2 separate regions of the Homo sapiens genome follow, and region 1 is linked to region 2. Evidence: promoter capture Hi-C in human tissues and cell types (Jung and others, 2019). All regions are on one chromosome and are shown on one strand. The core of a region is centred on a gene start or on the middle of the fragment in contact, and the rest is flanking DNA. Distances in the headings are between cores, read along the strand shown. Region 1 overlaps SNRPF-DT (SNRPF divergent transcript). Region 2 holds the start of HAL (histidine ammonia-lyase).

The links. The method cuts DNA at HindIII sites, captures the fragments that hold promoters and counts their contacts. A contact is called where the count stands out against the background at its distance.
Region 1: a fragment that was not itself captured here is called in contact with the fragment with the promoter of HAL in region 2 in 1 of the 25 tissues and cell types used here (mesendoderm cells).

What each region holds. Positions count from the first base shown.
Region 1 is chr12:95,809,811-95,814,603 of GRCh38, reverse strand. All of the region lies in intron 2 of SNRPF-DT (SNRPF divergent transcript), which reads left to right. The region is part of intron 1 of LINC02410 (long intergenic non-protein coding RNA 2410); the gene reads right to left. Among named protein-coding and RNA genes, the nearest start is that of LINC02410, 9.1 kb to the right of the region's middle. The HindIII fragment of the contact is 3,368 bases long and covers 350-3,717 here.
Region 2 is chr12:95,994,815-96,000,236 of GRCh38, reverse strand. HAL (histidine ammonia-lyase) reads left to right here and starts at 3,893. Exons shown (of 21, transcript NM_002108.4): 1 at 3,893-4,159; 2 at 4,246-4,573; 3 at 5,244-5,304; 4 at 5,412-5,422. The coding sequence starts at 4,327. LOC102723340 (a long non-coding RNA gene) reads right to left here and starts at 3,755. Exons shown (of 4, transcript XR_945237.4): 1 at 3,607-3,755; 2 at 1,810-1,906; 3 at 1-146. RefSeq lists enhancers at 1,486-1,545, 1,992-2,286, 3,511-3,680. The HindIII fragment of the contact is 2,850 bases long and covers 3,471-5,422 here.

The DNA of each region.
Region 1 (4,793 bases), core at 784-3,283, 180 kb after region 2:
ATATGTACATTTTTTCTAAGAATAATTAAGAAAAGAAAAAAGTAATAGATTTGTTTGCTGAAATATTTATTTGGAAGCTTGTTTTTCCGTGGGGAGCAAACCAAATCCTAGGAGTTGCTCCACATAATGTTTTCTAGTGCCTGAATAATTGTCCAACTGTTTTCATTTTACACCTTCTAACCGGAAAGAACTAGTTTATAATTTTGTTACTGACTTTCTTGCATCATAAATATTACAGAATAGCCCAAACTAGGTGAAATTAGTTCATTGTATGAATACAAATTAATGAAATTTCACTACATTATGTAAAGATACTCTAAATCAAATAAGCTTGAACTGCAGAGTCTTTCCCTCCAAATCAAATAAGCTTGAAACTCCTTTATATTCTTTGTTCTAGAGTCTTTCCTTATTAAAAAGACTTCTTAGGCTGGGCACGATGGCTCAAACCTGTAATCCCAGCACTTTTGGAGGCCAGAAGTTTGAGACCAGCCTGGGCAACATAGTGAGACCCTGCCTCTACAAAAAAGTTTTAGAAAATTAGCCAGGTGTGGTGGCACTGCCTATGGTCCCATCTACTTGGGAGGCTGAGGTGGGAGGATTGCTTGAGCCTGGGAGGTTGAGGCTGCGGTGAGCCATGATTGCACCACTGTACTCCAGCCTGGGCAACAGAGTCAGACTGTCTCAAAAGAAAAAAAGACCTCTTTCCAGGGACACTCTGTTCTGTTAGCCACATATCAAGTTTTCAAAAACAGGTGTTGAATGACAAAGAGGGTTCTTCTTCTTCTTCTTCTTCTTCTTCTTCTTCTTCTTCTTCTTCTTCTTTTTTTTTTTTTTAGTGAAACGGAGTTTCATTCTGTTGCCCAGAATAGAGGGTAGTGGTGTGATCGTGGCTCACTGCAGCCTTGACCTCCTGGGCTCAAGTGATCCTGTTACTTCAGGCTCTGAAGTAGGAAGGACTATAAGAAGGTGTCACCATGCTCAGCTAATTTTTTTTTTTTTTTTTTTGAGACAGAGTCTCACTCTGTTGCCCAAGCTGGAGTACAGTGGCATGATCTTGGCTCACTGCAACTTACGCCTCCTGGGTTCAAGCAATTCTCCTCCCTCAGCCTCCCGAATAGCTGGGACTACAGATGCCGCCACCACACCCAGCTAATTTTTGTATTTTTAGTAGAGATGGGGTTTCACCATGTTGGCCAGGCTGGTCTCGAACTCCTGACCTCAGGTGATCCACCCGCCTTGGCCTCCAAAAGTGCTGGGATTACAGGCATGAGCCACCACGCCCAACTGCTCAGCCAATTTTTAAAATTTTTTGTATTGATGGTGTCTTGCTACGTTGCCAAGGCTGTTCTCAAACTCCTGGGTTTAAGCAATCCTCCTGCCTCAGTCCCCCAAAGTGTTGGGATTACAGGTGTGGGCCACCACACCTGGTCAGCATTCTTCTTTATCATGATCACCCTGTTACTGAAAGTACGTTATAGGCTATAGTTACAATAGATAAATTGGGCCAATTTTTAAGAAGTATCATTTTACTCACTGGAGATTATGTTAACGCCATGAGAATGGTAAAACCAGGGTTTGTTTTTCTTCTGTTATGCAACTTTGCTATATGTACTAGGCATATAAAGTAAAACAGTAGTATATTAGAGTCCTGATTTGGTGCAGTGATCATTTATAGGCTTAGCTGGTCATAGCACCCATTGTGAAATTACATGCGGAAAATGGATCCTGTTTTAAGAGAACAGAATCTAACTTGGATTCTAATTCTTCAACCACCAAAAACTTCCACACCTCTTTCTAGGAGATACAGAAAAATATATGCCCTTTATTGGAGTCATAAAGAGCTCTACATTCAGAGTTCTGTTTCCTTAAGGCAAAGAACCTGAATGCTAACCCTTCTTTGTTTGTAATTGACAAAAACCGTAGGATGTTTTCTTAAAGAAAATTATCATTATATATATATTTTTCTCCAGAGTTAAAATGTTGATACTGATAATTTTCTTTAAGAAAATATCTTAGGGATATTGTCAATTACAAACAAAGGAGGGTCAGTACTCAGGCATTTTAACTCTGGAGAAAAGTTTATATTTTCACAACTAAATACTTCACCATTTATCCAATAAAATCTGTAAATTTTCAGTTATTGATTTAACTATTTCTCTCTGACTTTAGAACTTGATATCATTTGACTGTTATCACAAGTACTTGATTTAATGGCCATGTTTTTCTCTAGACGATATCATCCTACATGAGTCATGGTAGGCTTAGTCAACAGACTTGTATTTCTTTTTGTTTGTTTGTTTGTTTGTTTGTTTTTGAGACAGAGTCTCACTCTGTCACCAGGCTGGAGTGCAGTGGCGCGATCTCACCTCACTGCCACCCCTGCCTCCCAGGTTCAAGCAATTCTCCTGCCGCAGCCTCCCAAGTAGCTGGGACTACAGGCATGCACCACCACGCCCAGCTAATTTTTGTATTTTTAGTAGAGATGGTGTTTCACTATTGGCCAGGATGGTCTCGATCTCTTGAACTCATGATTTGCCCACCTCGGCCTCCCAAAGTGTTGGGATTACAGACATGAGCCACTGCTCCTGACCTTGTATTTCTATTTCTATAGCCATGATTCTATAATCTTATTTGATCATTCCATCAATTTATGGTTCTGTAGTAAAATATTTTGTTTGTATATGTTCATATCATGTACCAAATGTAAGTGTTCATTTTACCATAATTTCTTGACACTTTAAAAATTGTTAGCATTTTCTAAAGTTTAGAATTATTCAGCTTGGGGGGAAGTTCAGTGAGGACTGCTGGTGGTGGATAGCATGAGACCTGGGTAATACTGAAAACAGCTCTGTGTCTAAGCTGCTCCTTGGATCAATAGACTTTCTTTCTGGGCCAAATTATAGCTCCTTTTCATTGACAGGTGAACATCTCAATATCTTGTAGCCTTTTCTCCTTCTTAGAAAACATGATAGAAATAAATGGGTGAATCCAAAGCAGTATAATTTTAGCAAACAGAAAAGATATTACACTCCTTCTGGAGTGTAATGGCATGATCATAGTTTACTGTAGCCTCGGGGCTTGAGTGAGCCTCCCACTTCAGCCTCCTGAGTAGCTGGAACTATAGGTTTGTGCCACCATGCCTGGCTAATTTTTGTTATCTTTAGTAGAGACGAGGTCTCAGTATGTCACCCAGGCTGGTCTCCAACTCCTGAGCTTAAGCAATCCTCCCTCTTCTGTCTCCCAAAGTGCTAGGATTACAGGTGTGAGCCATCACGCCCAGCCCCTTATTAATTTTAAACTTTCATGTATTCCTTTGGAGAATGTCTTTCTTGCCCCTTTTTAGCATATCCAAACCTTATCATAGTCGCCATCCAGCTTTTTTTTTCTTTTTCTGGGTCTCCCAGTCTCTAGCATGTTTTATTGCCTTATAGTAGTTTCTCATTGCTTTATGTGCAAATTATTACATGCCAAATCAGATTGTATGCCTCTTGAGAACAATCTTGTGCTTTATTTACCAAGCTTGGTAAACGCTGAATATATAATCTACTTTCCTTGCATTTAATTATCACTAAAGAGTTGATTCCCAATTTACTTTATCCCCTACCATTTATGCATTTTGTTGGGAAATGTTTACTTATGTGCTGGGAAACATAAATAAAGCCCAAGATTGTTCTCAAGAGGCTTACAATCTGATACAAATTCATAAACTTTCTTAAAACATTATGAGATTTTTTTTTTGCTTTTTTCTTTTTCTTTTTCTTTTTTTTTTTTTAGCTCATCAGCTTTCTTTAGTGTTAGTGTATTTTATGTGTGGCGCAAGACACTTCTTCTTCTTCCAGTGTGGCTCAGGAAAGCCAAAAGACTGGACACCCCTGCATTAGACTATTAATAAGCAGTTCTTATTTCTGAAGAAGCTTTGGGTCATATTCTTCTCTCCTTTTTTTGGCCTGATCTACTGTAGGTGAACATTTGTAGATTAGCTGGTTCCCCTTCATTCCTTCTCTTCTGAAATGTGTGGTAAAGTAAAAATGCCTAAGGCAATAATTTGTGGATAAAAACGGCTGCACATGAAAAATAATTGATGTGGTTTAAAAATTACTCTGAGGTGGAAAATAAAATGCCTTTTCAACCTACACTCTAAAAAGAGTACTAAAGCTAATTCTTTATAAATCATGGAATGGAAGCAAAGAAAGACACATTTTTGGGTAGTCAATCAATTTTAAATAAGGAGAGTTTTTAAATTTTGTATAAAAAATTAAAAAATGTTCAGTTCCCTAAAAGGACATAGCTGAAGATGAAGAAAGTCTTAACTACACCCTTAGCAATGTGAGTTTAATGTTTTCTATAATTATAAATATGAAAGCTGATCACTTTGGTTTCTTTATAAGTTAATCATTTTAAACATCACACACCAGGGCCTGTTGGGGGCTTGGGGGCAAGGGGAGGGAGAGCATTAGGACAAATAACCTAATGCATGTGGGGCTTAAAACCTAGATGACAGGTTGATAGGTGCAGCAAACCACCATGGCACATACAAATGTATGTAACAAACCTGCATGTTCTGCACACGTATCGCAGAACTTAAAGTAAAATTTAAAAATAATAATAATAAGTTAACCTTTTTTAAAAAAATGCCTTTGTAGTTTTAGCTTTTTTCTATTATGTCTCTGCAACTTTCCTGGGAGTGACCCAAACGCAAACATTCTCTGCTTATGGTACTTCCCAAGGTGCTCTTGTCACTGTAGTGCTGCCCCAATGCCACCTACACCTGGCCTGCATGTGTGTTTACGATG
Region 2 (5,422 bases), core at 2,644-5,143:
TACCAGAATGTGTCAACCCTAGCAGGAGCTCTCAACTCCCTCCTCCTGGACCCCTCCGGCTCATCCAGTGGGCTTGTCCTGGTCTCCTGTCCATCAGGGGTCAGATGGCCACCCCAAGCACCAGTCTTTCCCATCCCTCTCACAGTCTGTTCAAAGACAACAAAATAACTTGAACCAAATAAAAGACAAACATAACAAAGCACCCCTGCCAATGCAACGTAGTGCCCCAGGGCATCTCAGCACACATAGCTGTACTAGGTAGAATTATTAGTGTATTAGCTCTATTAGTTAGAATTAATTAGAACCATAGCTGTGTTAGAATTCTTTGATTGCAAGTAACAGCAATCCAAGTGACCAGAAGTCAAAAAGGGAAAAGGAAGATTATTTTAAGGATGCTAGGTATGGGGAGATTATCAGAACCTGGGACGGACAGAAGGGGTCTGATGCCCAGGACTGCAGCACCGTCAGTGCTCCTGTCCCTCACCTCTGCCTCTCTAGTCCACGTTGTACAGGCCGGCCACTCTCCAGCTTTACTGTTACAAATAGCTCTGACCACATGGGGAGGCTATCACAATTCCAAATTCCCAGAGGTGAGACTCTAACCCAGGTTGGGTCCACCTCTGGTCAAATAAATTGTGTAAGAGGAATGGTGTCTTAGAGTATAATTGTTGGCATGGGGTGGGGGTGGGGAGCGGTGTCCTGACCAAATAACCCCTCAAAGTGCTAATGCAGTGACTAAAGTTACAATAGGAGTGAACACCCAAGGTGGGACAGGTATGGAAGAGACATATTCCTGCCTATTCCCGGAATCCTGACTTTTCCCTGGCTCTCACTCTCCCTAGCAGTTTTTGTTTTGTTTTGTTTTGAGACAGGGTCTCACTCTGTCGCCCAGGCTGGAGTGCAGTGGCATGACCATAGCTCACTGCAGCATCAGCCTCTGGGTTCAAGCCATCCTCCCACCTCAGCCTCTGGAGTAGCTGAGACTACAGGCATGCACCACCATGTCTGGCTAATTTTTGTTTTGTAGAGAAAGAGTTTGGCCATGTTGCCCAGGCTGGTCTCGAACTCCTGGGCTCAAGCAATCCACCCGCCTCGTTCTGTCCTCTTGGTCACTTATCTATGCTGCAGTGTGATTCTTTCTCCAGGCTCTGCTCTCCCTTGCCTTCCTTGCCAAGAATACAGAGAAGGGAGTTCAGCTCAAATCACTGGCATAAGATCATGTTCTAAGATTAGACTTTAGCAAATCCATTTACCCAAATACTGCTCTTTAAGGCTTCTGCCCTATGAGCTTACAAGACAAGCTGTAAGTTAATGTCGTTTTTAGTTATCACTTAGTGATACTGAAAGTGAATTGTGACAAGGGATGCTTGAAGGGTGGCATGGAAGGGTGCTGTGAAGAAGGTAGAGGGCGCTAAAGACAAACTTAATCCTGCTTGCTGGTTTACCTAGGGGCCAGCTCGGTGCAGTTCACATTTCTTCAGTTCAGCTAGTAAGCATATGCTAAATGTCTTTGTGCCAGATCGGATATATACATAATTATGGATGAACACAGACAAGTAATTTCCTAGATAATACTAAAGAAGAGCTATGCTAAGGCATCCCAGAGAAGGGCCACTTAACCCAACTGAAGAATTTAGGGAATGCTTCCTGGAGAAGAAAAGGCCTAAACAGGCTTAAGGAGTAAGAAAGATCTAGACAGGCAAAGGAAGTTGGAAAGTGCGTTTCTGGAGAAAGAATAACAAGGAAGACTCTGCTCCACAATGCGTAGGGCCTGAGTTTAGAATCCTCAAACTGCTGGGGGTGACTTACATGGCTGGGAGGTGGTATCACCTGGAAGCTCCTTCCCTCACTAGTCTGATGCCTGGGCTGAAATTACTCAGAAGCTGGTCTCGGCAGTGACAGTCAACTGGAGCATGCAGTAGTTTGGGTTGTTTTGCAGCATGAAGATAGTTAGACCTCTTATTAGTCATCTTTATACAGCTTTATCCATCACCAGACAGTAAGCCTCATGAATGTAGAGCGTGTTTGTTATTTATTTCATCCCCAGCACCTCGCATAGAGCTTGTTACATAACAGGTGTTGAAAAAATATTTGTTAAATGAGTCAAGGAATGAATGGGGGGGGGTGGGGCAGAAGGTTAAGGTGGTTCACATGTGCAGTCCTCAGTTTTCTCACAGATGTAGGAAGTAAGGTCTCCTTCTGAGAATTAGAGGTGGATGTCGAGAAGGTCCTGGCAGAGGGGTCAAAGTTTTGGAAAGTCACTGTGGGCTGGATGGAATAAAAGGGCAATACCATCAAACTATGTGATCACAGGACTTTCTCTATCAGTGTCTTCTGCCTGGGTGAACAGATATGACAGTTTCTTTTAATTTTAAACAGGGTCTTGCTCTCACCCAGGCTGGAGTACAGTGGTATAATCATAACTCATTGCAGCATTGACTGCCTAGGCTTAAGCAATCCTTCCAAGAGATGGCTGTTTTTTGTGATGACTAAGGGGATGGGTGTTATTCCAAGTGTAGACATAAGTTTAGGGATGCAAAGGAATCTCAGAGTGCTTAAGAAAGAGTGGTCCAGTGAGCGACTAGGGACCAGCTTCCTAGGATAGTAAGTGAGGATGCTGGTGGGAAGTGGAGGGATGAAGAGACTGACTGGAGGTCAGGTCCAAGGCTGGCAGTGACTAGAGTAAAAGGGCAGCTGGAAGGTTGTGGTCAGAAGGTGGAATATTGGAATTTCAGATTTCTTAAGTGTGTCAAATTCAGGTCGTGACAGATTCCAGGGTGATTTCTTAAGTGTGTCAAATTCAGGTCATGACAAATTCCAGGGTGCAGTCATGGTGTGGGTATCTGAAGAGCAAGTTTCAATAAGGCTCAAGGAAGGGTAGCTATTTGTACGCTTCCTGGGAAGCTGTCAGCAGATGAGAGGGACTCTGGGTATGAGTATAGGTGTTTTTCTTGAGCAACCATGTCTCTCTTCCCAACAGAAGTCTGATTTAGTGGAAACAGACTTTTCAGGATTTTTCTAGTGCAATAATCAAATCTCTAAAAATTGGCTTACGATGAAAGTGCTGCTTAGTCAAAATAGCATCTGCATATCTTTGATGCCGTAATCATGCTATCCAGAGTTCCTTAATACCAATGGTAATAAGGCGGGTGCAGGGAGCAGTTATCTGTGGTGAAGAAGCTTAATTGGGTGAGGGATATCCATGTGCCAAGATGAAAGAGCATTTATGGAACTTTATAGCTTTATGATTCATACAGAACATTTATAAAGCATTATAGTTACATGGAGTATTGGTGTCCAGATACTAGTAATCACAGACACTTCTATAATATTTCCACTATGCCAGGTGTTGTGTTGAGGGCTTTACATATATGAACTGACTTCATCCTCCCAATAGCCCTTTGACATATATACTATCATCATTACCATTATCTTCATTTTACAGATGAGGCAACTGAGGCCCAGAGAAGTCAAATCACTTGCCCACAAGTCATACACTTAGCAAATGGCAGAGCCAGGATTTGATCACAGGTAAATCCTGCACATACTGGAAGGAGGCAGTTAGCCCCTAGGCCTTCTGATAAGGAAATACAGGGTAATACTCACCTAATCAAGGCTAATAAGTAGTAGAGCTGGACTCTCATCCACGGCTGTCTGAGCCCCTAATCTCCAAGTCAGAGTGGTTCATTTGCCCAGATGACGACCTTTAGTTGTGAAAATGATCTCTGGCCTTTGCAGTCTTCCCTGGTGGAAAGAAAGCTTCAGAAAACCTTACTGGTGACAGGAAGTAGTTGCTCAATACATGTTTGTGGAATAAACAAATGAGTGACGATTGCCACACTCCCAGTGTCACAGTTGGCCCACAGAACACGTTTTACAGTTGAGTAATCTCAGATAAAGACAGGAACATGGTGTTTATAAGCTGCCCTTAATGGCAGAGAACACAGACAGAAACGAGGGAAGAGAGAGAAATTGGGGACCCTGAAGAAAGGGGGCCAGCAGCAGGTAGGTGCCATCAGGGACAAGAACAGCACCTCCCAGGGTGGGAGACCCCAGGCCTTTCTGGCAGCAGGTCTGGATGGAAAGTGGACAGGAGGCTCACCCGTCTGCATCCCCTGCTCCTGCCCCTGCTCGGCTACAAAAACCAAAGGGACAGCAGGTACCTCAATAAATATTTGTCCAATGCATGAATGAGTAAAGGTGAAGGAGGGGGAGTGGTTTGAAAGTCTATTCTCATCCTTCCAGCTGACCACACCCCGGTAGCCACTCCTGCATAAAGCTCTCCCCTCCTGTGACCAGCTGAGGACCTCAGGCTGCAGCGGAGCCATGCCCAGATACACGGTGCACGTACGTGGGGAATGGCTGGCAGTGCCCTGCCAGGACGCGCAGCTCACTGTGGGCTGGCTGGGCCGGGAGGCCGTGAGGCGCTATATCAAGAATAAGCCCGACAATGGTGGCTTCACCTCCGTGGATGACGCGCACTTCCTTGTGCGCCGGTGCAAGGGCCTGGGCCTGCTGGACAACGAGGACCGGCTCGAGGTGGCCCTAGAGAACAACGAGTTCGTGGAAGTGGGTGAGTGGCTGCAGGAGAGGGCCGCGAACGGGTGCGGTTTGGCCTGGCTTAGTCTTTGCAGCATTGAACCCCCACCTCAGGGAAAATGATGAGCAGAGGTCAGGCTTGCCGAGGCTGGCCCTGTGCAGGCACATGCCACGCCTCTGGGGATCTTAAGTCCTCACACAACCCTGTGAGATGGGTAGGATTCTCCTCCACCTCTGATGGAGGAGAAATCAGAGAGGAGGTAACTTACCCAGACTCCAGCAGCTAGTAAGTAACAAAGACTAGACTGGTACTCAAGGCTGCAGGTCTGAATCCCTTTGCAGTGACTGAATCATTTTGAGGTTATTTTGCCTTTCGAAAGAATCCACCCCCACCCCCAGACTGGAGGCCGGCAGCATAGCATCAGTTCAGATTTTGAAGAAAATAAAGCTGGGAATGGGGATGGAAGTGGAATTCTGTCTTGAACTTTCATCTAAACCCCTGGTCTCTGCCCTGACACCTACCTTTCTGCTTTTTGCTCTCCTCCTACATAAAGATGCTAAGACCACATGAAACCATCTGAAGCAGTTTTAAAGCAGCCATTTCTATAGAATTCATGGGCCAATGATGGGCCGTTCCTTGGTTTAACAGGGGGAACATGGCTGTACAATGTGATCTGTAACGAGTCTCCCGTGCATTGTTTTAGTTATAGAGGGTGATGCCATGTCTCCTGACTTCATTCCATCTCAACCAGAAGGAGTTTATCTGTATCCTTTCCCACAGGCTCTTTGGTCTGCTCTGGGGGTGGCTCCTGCAGATGGTGGGGCTGGGGGTTTTTCCACACCACCCTATATGTTCCTTTACCTGGATACAGATACAGCAAGT